Regions from separate parts of the Homo sapiens genome. Here region 1 is linked to region 2. Evidence: promoter capture Hi-C in human tissues and cell types (Jung and others, 2019). All regions are on one chromosome and are shown on one strand. Each heading gives the region's core, a stretch centred on a gene start or on the middle of the fragment in contact. The rest is flanking DNA. Distances are from core to core; before and after follow the strand shown. Region 1 has its middle 8.8 kb from the start of ZNF343. Region 2 holds the start of SDCBP2 (syndecan binding protein 2).

The links. The method cuts DNA at HindIII sites, captures the fragments that hold promoters and counts their contacts. A contact is called where the count stands out against the background at its distance.
Region 1: a contact is called between a fragment that was not itself captured here and the fragment with the promoter of SDCBP2 in region 2, in 1 of the 25 tissues and cell types used here (hippocampus).

The regions. Positions count from the first base shown.
Region 1 is chr20:2,514,446-2,520,911 of GRCh38, forward strand. It overlaps a transcript of ZNF343 not described here. Among named protein-coding and RNA genes, the nearest start is that of ZNF343, 8.8 kb to the left of the region's middle. The HindIII fragment of the contact is 4,270 bases long and covers 694-4,963 here.
Region 2 is chr20:1,326,273-1,332,851 of GRCh38, forward strand. It overlaps SDCBP2 (syndecan binding protein 2), which reads right to left and starts at 2,867. Exons shown (of 9, transcript NM_080489.5): 1 at 2,813-2,867. All of the region lies in intron 2 of FKBP1A-SDCBP2 (FKBP1A-SDCBP2 readthrough (NMD candidate)), which reads right to left. The region is part of intron 1 of SDCBP2-AS1 (SDCBP2 antisense RNA 1); the gene reads left to right. The HindIII fragment of the contact is 26,056 bases long and covers 1-6,579 here.

The sequences.
Region 1 (6,466 bases), core at 1,579-4,078, 1.2 Mb after region 2:
TCAAAGATCTTAGAATTTCTCTTATTGGGAGTTATAAGCAATTATAGTGAATCAAAGCAGTATTTGTGTAAATGAGCCCATAGCCATACATGTTCTCAAAGAACCTTCTCGTTGCTAGTCAAATCAAAGTAAGATGAATCCAGTCAGTATTTGTAAAAATAAGCAGTCTAATTTAAAGCTCAATATTATATATATCTTTTAAAAAATTTTTGTAAGACTAATACTGTGTGTTTAATGAATTAGAAGCCAAAGCAGGCCAGGCATGGTGGCTCACGTCTGTAGTTCCAGCACTTTGGGAGGCCAAGGCAGGCAGATCACTTGAAGCCAGGAGTTGAAGACCAGCCTGGCTAATATGGCGAAACCCCATCTCTACTAAGAATATTAATACAAAAATTTAGCCAAATTTGGTGGCATGCACCCATAGTCCCAGCTACTCAAGAGGCTGAGGCACGAGAATTGCTTGAACTCAGGAGGCGGAGGTTGCAGTGAGCCAAGTGAGCTGAGATTGCACCACTGCACTGCACTCCAGCCTGGGTGACAGAGCGAGACATTGTATCAAAAAAAAAAAAGAAGAAGAAGAAGAAAGAAGAAGGAAGGAAGGAGAAGAAGGAAGGAAGGAGAAGGAAGAAGAAGAAAGAGAAGAAGAAGCCAAATCAGAAAAAGAAAGGAAAAAAAGACTAATACTGCAGTGTTAGTAAACACAAGTTCAGACATTTTACTAGATTTACTGCTGATTAGAATACATTGATATTAATGTAAACTTTAAACAAACCAGGTGATAAAGACACCTTCGTCTTATTATTTGTCAGAGCTATTTATGATATTTGTGAAAATGAGTTCTGAATCCCATATTGGTTTTTTTCTTTTTTAGCCTCAATATATTACCACATTAAGAATCCCATATTGTTCTTAATAAATTTACAAATGTAGTCAGAAGCATTCAAAATATGTATTGTTATATGGAGGAATTACAATGACTCAGCAGGATTTGTGAAATCAGCTCAGAATTGTTCTCCAAAGAATCTTAAAAAATATTCCAAAAAATATTCCAAAAGCATTCAAAAGTACTCCAACTCTAACTTCTTTTTTGAACTACTACTGCTAAATAGATAACTAGTGATAACTTGAGACACATGTATGTCCTGGAGCTTCTCTTTTACATACTGTAGTTATTCTAATTATGTCTAGTTACCTAGTTAGTATGGGTTATCTTGTTATCTCTACTTGTCAGTAGTTCTTACTAGTTATATGAACAAGAAATAAGCTGTAGTTAACAGAAATGTATGGTTGAGGGTCTTTGCTTAACCCTTACCCTTGACTTTGATCTTGGGCATGAACTTCAACCTTAGACTTCGAGGTTCAACATGAGAGTGAGAGACAGGCTCAGGTGATGGTACCAGAGTGAGCGTCACACAGTCAGGGCGATGATCCGTATCTGCATCATCAGGAGGATTGGAGTAAGGATGAGTGTCAGGGTCAGCGGCTGTGAAAGGAGGAGGGGAGTCAGACTCAGAGTGAGATTGAGGGTCAAGGTCAGAGTCAGAAAGGGGTGAATGTGAGGGTGAATGTCAGGGCCAGATTGAAAGTGAGAGTGATGGTCAGATTGAGGTGATGAAGTGAGAATGGGGGCTAGGGTGAGGGTGAGGTTGAGAATTAGGGTGATGATCAAGGTTGGGGTTTGGGAGAGAGCAGGCTGAGTGTTTGGTTCAGGTCGGAATCAAGGTGAGGATGAGAGTCGGGGTCACAGAGATGTTAAGGATGTGATTTAGAAGCCAAATGTCCTGGTGCATGCCTGTAATCCCAACTACTCAGGAGGCTGAGGATTGCTTGAGTCCAACAATTAGAGGCCAGCCTGGGCAATGGAGCGAGACCCTGTCTTCAAAAAGGGAGGGGATTGTGATTTAGGGTAAAGGTGGGGCCAGAGTGATGCTGTGAGGGTCAGAGTCACTGTTAATGTCAGGCTGAGGGTGAGGGTTAGTGTTTGATTTAGGATCAGAGTAGGTCCCAGTGAGGATTAAAGTCAGAGTGAGAGCAAGTGCACAGTGAGTGTGAGCGTGGGCATGAGAGTGAGATCAAGGTCAGTGTCAAAGTAAGAGTCCATCTGAGGAATAAACTCAGAGTGAGGATGAGTGAGCAGGGTAGGGTCAGGACAACAGTGATGATGAGGGTCTGGTTTAGCGTCAAGGGCAAGTGTCAAGATGAAACTGAGGGTCAGGGTGAAGGTGAGAGTGAGGGAGAGTGAGGTCTAGCTGAGGATGAAAGGGAGATTGAGAAAGAGAGAGTCAAGTGCAATTCAGGTCCAGTGTATGAGGCTTAGGTCAGGTTTAAGGCAAGGGTTGGGATAAGGGTTATGATCACATTGAGGGTCAGGTTGAGGATAAAGGTCAGGCTCAAGGCCAGAAAGTGTTAGGGTAAAGGTGGGCGTGAGGTTCAGGGTCAAGGAGAAGATGAGAGTGAGTTGACATTGAGGATGTCCTTCATGATTAGTGTCACTGTCACGGTCATTACTTTTTGTGACTTACAACAAATCTGGATGAACCTAGTCAATTTAAGTCAGAATCATACATTCATATCTAAGGTAACTCACTATGGTGAATTCAATCAGATGTATATGAAAGTAAGCAGAATACTTGAAAACAGCAAACCATGCTTCCAACTAAGGTTCAAGTCCAGGTTTGGGAATATTTCAAATGATATGTTTCATTGTGCATTAGAGCATATTTAAATGAAACCAAGCTGTTTATGTCAAACGAGCTCAGAATCTATCATTCTTCCTGAATGAGACTGAGTGCTCCAGAGAAATAGAAGCAACAGAATTTGTATGTGTTTATGTATTTGTATATGTATATGTATACACACACACAGGTATATATACAAATATACACACACATATATACACATTCAGCCAATGTATATGTGTGTATATATATATACACACATATATAGCTGATGTATATGTATATATATACACACATATACATATACCAGGAGAGCCGATGGTGCAGTTCCAGTCCAAAGGGGCAGCCTGCTGAAGAATTCCCTCTGGTCTTTTTTTTTTTTCTTTTTTGAGATAGGGTCTTACTCTGCACTCTGTCACCCAGGCTAGAGTGCAGTGGCATCATCATGGCTCACTGCAGCCTCGACCTCCTGGGCTCAAGCAGTCCTCCCACCTCAGCCTTCCAAGTAACTGGGACTACAGGCACACACCACCATGCCTGGCTAGTTATTAATTTTTTTTTTTTGTAGAGATGGGGTCCCCCTCTGTCACCCAGGCTGGTCTTGAACTCCTGGCCTCAAGTGATCCTCTCACCTCAGCCTCCCAAAGTGCTGGGATTAAAGGAGTGAGCCGTTGCCCTTGGCCTCAATTTGTTATTGCTTATTAGAATAAATTGACATGAAAGTAAGCTTTAATAATAATAATAATAAAAGATGAGAAACACACCGTCATCAAAACTGTACTTAGAGCTAAGACAAATGGAAACATTATATGTGAAAGACATCTCAAAATCACATATTGTCCTTAATAAAATTTTAAAAGTACTCAAAGGTTTATTTTTTTTTCCTTTTTTCTCTCTTTTTTTTTTTCGAGACAGAGTCTCACTCTGTTACCCAGGCTGGAGTGCAGTGGCTCGATCTCGGCTCACTGTAACCTCTGCCTCCCAGGCTCAAGTGATTCCCCTTCCTCAGCTTTCTGAGTAGCTGGGATTACAGGCGCGTGCCACCACGTCTGGCTACCTTTTTGTATTTTTTTAGTAGAGACGTAGTTTCGCCATGTTGACCAGGCTTGTCTTGAACTCCTGAACTCAGACAGTTTGCCGACCTTGGCCTCCCAGAGTGTTAGAATTACAGGCGTGAGCCACCGCGCCCAGCCTCAAAGATTTATTTCTATTTGGGAGAATTATAATGAATCAAAAGCAGTATTCGTGTAAATGAGCTCATTGTCACATTGCTCTTAAAAGATCCTTCTTATTGCCAGTTAGAGCAAATTAAGTAGAATCTAGAATTCTGAAGCCAACATAGAATCACTAACTGTTGTCAAATAATCTTTTGTACTCCAAAGTACTCCAAAATACACAATAGTACTCACAAGTGCCAGACTCTAACTTCTGATTTCTAAATAGCTACCCCTCCGGTTCCACACTCACTCACAACCTACAACCCTCCCTTACAGACACTACCTTCCAACATACCACATGCTCTCAGCCCCGTGTCCACTTCCCTACACCACTTGCTTCACATCCACTCAATACCTATGCTCTGACAATCACCCACACACCACCTACCTCTCCCCTGTAAACCATTCAGTGCCTACCCTTGCAGCCCACACCCACTGATAATGGTTTGGCTCTGTGTTCCTACCCAAATCTCATCTCGAATTGTAATCCCCACATGTCAGGGGAGGGACCTGGTGGAAGGCGATTGGCTCATGGGGGTGGTTTCATCCATGCTGTCCTCATGATAGTGAGTTCTCACAAGATCTGATGGTTTAAAAGTGTTTGGCAGTTCCCTGCCCCCCTCTCTCTTTCCTGCCATCGTGTAAGACATGCCTTGCTTCCCCTTCACCTTCCACCATGATTGTAAGTTTCCTGAGGCCTACCCAGCCATGTGCAACTGTGAGTCAATTAAACCTCTTTCCTTTTTAAATTACCCAGTCTTGGGTAGTTCTTTATAGTAGTGTGAAAATGGACTAATCCACCCATTCACTACTTTCTGACCCATACTCATTCTCTACTTACTCCCTCAAATACCCCGTGACCTACCCCACATTACATACCAACTCACTACCCACACCCTGCCACAGACTCCTTTACTACGCTCTCATAATGATTCTGACACTGACACCCTAATCCTGACTGTGACACTGACTCTCCCTCTGACCCTGTACCTCCAGCTCACTCTCACACTCACTCTGGTCCTAACCATGAACCTGACCTTCACACTCACACTGACTCTGGACTTCGCCTTCAGATTTGCCTCACCTCACTGAATAGAACAAAAAGACCAGCCTCCTTGAACAAGAGGAAATTCTTCAGCAGACTGCCTTTAGACTGGAACTGCACCATTGGCTCCCCTGGGGCTCCAGCCTGCCAGCCTCCATAATTGTGTGAAGCAATTCCTTATACTAAATCTCCATATGTGTGTGTGCATGTGTGTGTATACGCATATACATACACATTCTATTGGTTCTGTTTCTCTGGAGAACCCTGACTCATTCAGGAAAAATGATAGATTCTGAACTCATTTGACATAAACAGCTTGGTTTCATCTAAATATGCTCTAACACACAATGGACATTTCATTTGAGATGTTCCTGAACCTGGACCTGAACCTTAGTTGAAAGTGTGATTTCCTGCCTGTTTTCAACTGTTCTGTTTAGTTTCACATATATTTAATTGAATTCACCATAGGGAGATGACTCTGATTTAAATTGCCTAGGTTCATCCTAATTTGTTGTAAGTCACAAAAAAATAAGGAAATTTAGAGAACAAGGTGTGATTGTAAGATTATTTTCTCTAATACTGCTTAGATTCATGTAATTTGGCTCTAAGTTATTTTTATCTGCTCTATCTGACCATTTCACACTTATTAAGAGGGGAGAGTCTGTTTCTTAGCTTGTTTACTGCTTGGTTGTACATAGTTTAATCTATATTTCTACTAATTCAACATAATAGAGTACTTTGGAGGATAATGACTGCTTCTGAGCTAAGTTTCACTAATACTGCTTAGATTCACCTTAATTTAATGCACTTTAAGATTCTATGTTTGTATTCTACATGCACTTTATGAGCTAGTTTGTATATACTATGAAGTTTATATATCATTTATTAAATGTATAAATTTCATTTATAATGGATGAGTGATTTTGAACTTGACTTCCTTTATATCACCTAATTTATGTGCTACTAGCCAGGCGTGGTACCTCACATCTATAATCCCAGCACTTTAGGAGGCCAAGGTGGGAGGATCTCTTGAGCCCAGAGGTTAGAGATCAGCCTGGACAACATGGCAAGACCCCGTCTCTATTAAAAAGAAATAATTTTTTAAATTAAAATATGTGCTACCTATGCCTAGCTACATTTTAATTATTCCTAAGAGCCTACAATCGCTTTTCAGAACAATGTCTGATTCTGAGCTTGTTCATTAATATACTGCTTATTTTATTTTATTTTATTTTACTAGATATGCTCTAACTCATCTTAAAGAGGAGAATCAGTGGGAAATGGGTCTGGGAAGATCATTGGTCAGCTCTGGTCCCAGAAACTTGGGCAGGCACCCCCTGTAAAGCACTTGTGAACATGGGGACTCGTCTTCTACGCCGAAAAGTGGTGACTCACACCATAGGCAAGTGGCAGATATTCAGCCTCTGGAAGAGAATATTGGGGACAGTTGCTGGCAGCACAGGTTGGCACTTGGACTCTGAAACAAAAAATGGGGACTTCACTTCTGGAGGGAGAGGTGGGGACAC
Region 2 (6,579 bases), core at 1,617-4,116:
CACTGAATCCACCCATGGGCTATGTCAGAAATCTGGGAGTTATCCTCAGCTCCTCCCTTTCCCTTCTGAAGCCATACCTACTTCTTGCCCTCAAATCTCTGTGACCTGACTTCTGGTAATGTTTCCATTCTCACCATCTCATTCTTCTCCACACTTATCATGAAGTTCATTTATTCCAGACTACTTTAGGTTGAGTCCTAAAAGTCAGCCTGCTAGTTCATGCCTCCATGCTTTTGCAGGTGCTATTCCCTCTGTCTTAAGAGTCATTCATGCCTTCTCTCTTTTCCTTGTTGTGAACTCTTTTTCCTCCAATTTAAAGCTTTCCCCCACCTGTACGCATGGAGATTGGCAAGCCTCCCTTCTCTAGACGACAGCATTTCTTGTATTTGCCTCTTCATCATATATTCCACAAGTGTTTGTTAATCACCTACTATGAGCAAGGCCTTCTGCATTTCCTAGGTTGGATTTCCACTGTGCTGTGTTTGTTTGCTCATCTCCCTCACTGGTCAGGAAATGTCACTCATTTGTTAACCCCCAGTGCTGAGCACAGTGCCTGGCACACAACAGGCATCCCATTACTATTTCTGAAAGGAGTGGAAAAGCAGGCACAGAGAGAAGAGAAAGCCTGATATCCTAAATATACAGTCTTTCTTCCCATGCCTGTCTGTGTTTGCAGTCAATAAGTAGAAAGTCTTTCGAAGAATAACCTGGGCCTGGAAAAGGAGAGAAACCATGGCCCTAACGAGTTAGGTTGAAAGGCTGCCTGGCTCCTATAATCTGACAGTGGAAGTTTGCTCAGTTCTGTGCTGATGGCTTCCCACAAGTAATTGGTTCCTCCGAAAGGAAAAGAACCCACCTAACCCCTCTCTCTCAGAGGAATTTTCCTCTCCCACAGCCCTTTCCAGATTTCCATCCCTGAGCTTCTGTACTTTTTGATATAAGCAATAACAACACCCACAACAAACCAATAGCTGGGCTTCGGAGATCAGCAGGGCTGACAAGGGGACTTCAGCCCCCATCTTTGAACTTAGAGTGAGAACACTCTTTGGAACACTTTGTTCCAAAGAGCTGAAGTGATGGAACTCCCACTCGTTCCTGTGGACAGCTCATCCGTCCTTTACAAGACAGTGCGCGGGAGGGAAGCGTGGGTTAGAGTGTCAGAGGAATAGCTCCTGGAAGGCCAAATTAGCCCAGGGATGTGGTGAGTCGGAATAGAAGAAGCTGTTGCTAGGCCACCAGCATGTACCCCCACTCCTCCTCTCAGTGCTGCACTGCCTGCTGGGGAAAAGCTGTGACTTCCTCAAGCAGACACGCCTGAACCCAGGCCCAGGCAGGGCAGGGTTCAGACTGACTGCTTCTGACTTGTGAGAGCACAGCATAGGCAAATCCCCTTTGAATGTCATTTCTTCCTTTGTAATCTGGATAACAATAGTTGCATCACAGTTGTCTGGAGACTGAAAGATTTTTAAAAAGAGTTAAGGTGTATATGGAAAGCATTTAGCACAGCACCTAGCACATAATAGGCATTCAGTAAAAGTTAGCTGTTTATTCATTGTTTCAGCGCTTACTTACTCAGCACCTGCTAAGTCTGAGTACTGTTCTAGGTATCAGCAGTGAAGGAAAGAAGACTTGGTCCCCAAATGTACTTTCTTTGGGGGAAGAGCTGGATAAATAGGCTTTGTGACTCTGTGTGCTGTGTTAGATGGTGGGAGGCACTGGAGAGAAAGAGCAGGACGGAGGGTCATGTCAGGAGGTTCAGAAGCCTTGCTGGCTGGGTGGGGTGACATTTGAGGAAAGGCCTAATGGGGTGGGCACGGCCATTGCAGAGCCTCTCAGGTGGGAGTTGGTGTTGTGTTTAGAGGACATCTGCCAGTGAGAAGCCAGTTGTGCAGAGAGGGAGTAAGGAGGAGTAGTGGGGAGGAAGCTGGAGAAGTGAGAGGGGCCAGATCCTGGAGGGCCTGGAGGTCATGGTGAGGACTTTGGCATTTACTGTAGTGAGATGGGAGCCACTGGGGGATTTGTAGCAGCAGAGTGCCAAGGTCCAAGGGTTATTTTGACAGGCCTCCTCTGGCTGATGTTTGGAGGATGGGCTACAGGGCAGGAGTGGGAGCAGGAGCCCAGGTGGGAAGTGATGGTGGTGGAATTGTCATGAGCTTGGGCCACTGTACGTGAAGCTGCCTGTCCAGTGCTCGCCCAGCCCATACCAGGCTCGTTTTCTGCCCCATTTTCTGAGACCCTGCTGAGGAGGGCATGCACTGGCTCCTGTGTCCAGTATGTCCTTCCATTCTCCTGACTTTGTGGGCTATTTTCAGTCTCCAGATGAAGAAACCAGTTCTTAGAAAGGTGAAGCCCCTGGCGCAGTTCCCCAGCAGGTGTTTCAGTGCTGTGGCAGGAAGGTTTTTTGATAGAAACAGCCTCAGGCCAGAGAAGTCGGCCTGAGCTGTGGATTCCTTGGGAGAAATGGGCTTTTTGCCTGCCTGCAGCCTCTGGTTTCGGCTGGAATTGGCCTTTCAAGGAGCAAAGTGTGGATCTCATCTCCTTGAGCACAGTCATGGGCAGTCAGAAGGCATCGGGGGCCCTCATGATGTCTGGGTGAAGAAAATCACTCAGCCCTTAATCAAACTTGGTCCAGGGCTGGGATCAGAAGAAGAAACCCCACTTCACACTTGACTGCTTGGAGTGAAGCACTTCGAAAGGAAGCTGCCTGGGAAGTCCCAGAAGGGAAGGGGCAGGGAGGGAAGGGGACAGGGTGAGAGCAGGTCTCACTCATCCCAATCCCAGCCAGGATTGGGTCAGGGCCCCCAGCGCTTACCTGCAGGCAAGGTGCTGCTCCACGACCTTCTCCAGCTGCTGCCGCTGCTGAATCTGTTTCCCTCCCTGAAACGTAGCCCTGTCTCTCAGCTGGCTTCCTGATCTGGGAAGGGTGGTGCCTGTCCCCTGTTCAGCTGACTCACCTTGGACTGGGATGGGCACAGGTGAGGGCTGTGGCTGGGTAAACAAGGCAGGTTGCCAGCCCAGAGGAGGCCTTTGGCCTTAGTCTGGATTTGGAGGTGGGATTAAGGCCCTCACAGCTGCTGTTCAGACGGTTATGAACCAAGACTTCTTGGCCTTTTCTTAAATAGCTCTAAATTTGGGTTGGACACCTAGTCCTGCTGATCGAGGCAGTTGGCTAGAGGGCGGTTTGTGATAGGTATCTAGGGGTCTAGGCCAGGATATTAAAAAGTGGTCATATCCTGTGACCCAGCATTTCTTCTAGGAATTTGTTACAGTGGAGTCACAGGGCCCATCCATCACTGCTGCTTCTAGTAAGGAAAATGTAGAAATCCCAAATGCCCATCTCTGTGGTCTGCTTGAATAAATCATTGTCTGTGGAAGATCACAGAGCTATTAAAGTCACTTAAGGAAGAAGGTATGAGGAAACATTTCTGAGATTCTAGTGAGATGTTGAAAAATCAATATTGTGAATCTCTTCTTGCATTTTGTTTTCATTTTTTGTAAAGTGGATGTGCGTTGAAAGCAGTCTAGGAGGACATACGCTAAAATGCTGAGTATCTCTGAATGGCAGCATTGAGGGTGAGGTTTTCAGTTTGTACTTTTGTGTGTTCCAAGGTGGTTTTTTTTTTTTTAAGTTAGCTTTTGCTCTGAATGCTCATGACTTTTGTAAGGGGGAAGCAATTAAGTTTGATTATTTTAATGGGAATTTAGAGTGGTTGTCTCTTGGGAGCAGACCTAAGGAGCTGTGTGCTGAGGTGGAGATTTTTTTTTTTATGGCACATTTTTGGTGTCTTAAATTTTGAAAAGTTTAAATGTACTACTTATTCCAAAAATAATTATATAAATTTGAACAGAAAAGGAGGAAGAATTTAGTTTAGATCCTGGTGGGTTTGGTTGGGTGAGGGTGCCTGTCGCACTGGGTGCCTGGGGAGGGACGAGGGACTCGTGTGCTGGGCAGTCCCATGAGGATTGACGCTGTACACACTCAGGGTGTGTCAGTATCTGGGCTGCTTCCTGGGCCAGGCAGGCCTACGTCACAGTTCCCATGACCCACCTGGCAGAGTTGCACTAGCCTTGGGTGTCAGATCTTGTGCCTGCCAATGAAGAGCTTACAGCCCAGAGTCCCACACAGGAAACACACAATAGGAATAATAACAAGAAAGACATTTGCCACTAATTCAGCACTTACTCCCAGAGAGCACAGAGATTCTACCCCTGGCACTTTAAAGGCATTATCTCAATGGCTTCTCATGCCATCCCTGCAGAGTAGGTGTGACTCACACCATTCCTCCAGGTGGGGACACTGAGGCACAGAGGCAAAGTTTCTCTCTCAAGTTAGCTGGAAAGTGGGCCAAGTTCATGTCTTCTCTTCTATGGGACATACTGTTTCAGAAAGCTGAGGTGTGGGGCAACCTCAGAGTAAGCTGTGTGGGCCTGAAGCTGAGGTAACGTGGGTGATGGACCCACCTTAGGTCAGGTGTCCAAGGCCAAAGCAAAGTGGAAAATAGAGATCCTAACTAAACCAAGCCACTCCTCCCCCACCTCACTTCATTCAGTCATGACCTGAAAGGGCCTTTATAGAAGAGGGAGGAGGAAGCAGGCCCTTCCAGGTAAGGGGCTTGCCTGTGGTCCCAGCATGTCAGCATGGAGCCCAGGTCCCCTAACTCCCACCTATTTAATACCTACAGGGACTCTCTTTCTATTCCCTCTTTGGATAGTTGCCACCCATCACTGACTTCCAGCCACCTGGAAATATCTTTCATTGGGCATGCCCTTGCTCGAACTCTTCAGTGGCTCCCTCCTGCTTCAGGGTCTGGGCTAAACTCCCAGGGCTGACATGGAGACCTCCACAGCCCACTCCCTTTATTACCTCCTCAGCACTCCCCCAGCACCTCTGCCTCAGCTGGACTGGGAGCCCCACCATTCCTGCCCCACTGCACACCCACTTCCTACCTGCCCTGACTCCATACCTTTGCCTGTCCTGCTGCTGCCCCTGGAACACCTTCTCCTGCCCCCACCCACCTAGCCACATCCACCACTGAGCTCCTCCAGGAAGCCTCTGGGATCCCCCACATCCATGTGGCCTCTCCCGCCTCTGACTCTGGATCAGACGCTCCTGTTCCATTCTTTAATAATCATCATCTTGTACTCATGTGTACCTTTTAGGCTACTAGTTAGACCCTAAGTTCCCTGAGGGCAGGGCCAAGTTATTAGCTCTACAGTGGTCATTCTTTTGAGACAGCATTTCGCTCTGTCACCCAGGCCATAGTGCTGTGGTGCAATCATGGTTCACTGCAGCCTCCACCTCCCAGGCTCAAAGGATTCTTCCACCTCAGCCTCCCTATTAGCTGGGACGACAGGTTCACACTGCCACACCTGGCTAATTTTTTTATTTTCTGTAGAGACAGGGTTTTGCCATGTTGCCCAGACTGGTCTCAAACTCCTGGGCTCAAGCAGTCTGCCTGCCTGAGCCTCCCAAAGTGCTGGGATTACAGGTGTGAGACCCCACACCCAGCCAGTTACTCTTTTCAAAATAAGGAGTGGAACTGTGCTCTGACCAGACAATATTTCTGCTTTGTTATATATTTGTATGAACAAGTCTAAAACTTTGGGTGGCCAGTAAACAGCACACACTCAGAAACTCCCTGGTAGCACCCATGGCACCCTGAGTAATCAACCACTAATGTCCTTCCTGCTGGGCCCAGAGGCCTCTCCGGATCCTCTCGTCATAATGCTGCAGGCAGCTACCGTCACCTAGAGTTGGCTCATGAGGTGAAGTCTCCATGCCATCTGGAATGGGTGCTCCATGATGGCAGGGGCTTGTCTTAACCCTGAGGCCTAGTACTATGCCTGGCACATAGCAGGCTCACAGTAAATTTTTTTTTTTTTTTTGAGATATGGTCTTGCTCTGTCTGCCAGGCTCAAGTGATCCTCCTGTCTCAGCCTCCTACGATCCTCCTGCCTCAGCCTCCCAAGATCCTCCTGCCTCAGCCTCCCACAATCCTCCTGCCTCAGCCTCCTGAATAGCTGGGACCACAGGCGTATGCCACCACAGCTGGTTAATTTTTGTATTTTCTGTAGAGATGGGGTTTTGCCATGTTGCCTAGGCTGGTTTTGAACTCCTGGGCTCAAGGGATGTATCCACCTTGGCCTCCCAAAGTACTGAGATTACAGGCGTGAGCCACCACACCTGGCCTCAGTAAATATTGACTGAGTGAATAAATGCCCCTCCTAGAAAAGTCAATCACAGTTAGAAACTTAAATGGCTGACCCTTATTTAAAAGATGGGTTGGGCTGGGGCATCCGATCTGAGTCCCAGCTCTGTGATGTTGCACATGTTACTAAACCTCTCTGAGCTGTAGTTTCCACACCTACCTTCTTTATAGACTTATCCTGAAGACTAAATGAGGTAACCATGTGAAGTACCTAGGACACAGCTGGCATTTAGTAAATGTTAGTTTCCTACTTTCTCATGGCTACATGTCACAGAAACAGTCATCTGATTGGAGTGAAAATAGAGATGCTCTTCCCAGAAGAAGAGAGAATGTCGGCTGGGCAGAGAAGGAGCTGCTCTACACTCCAGCC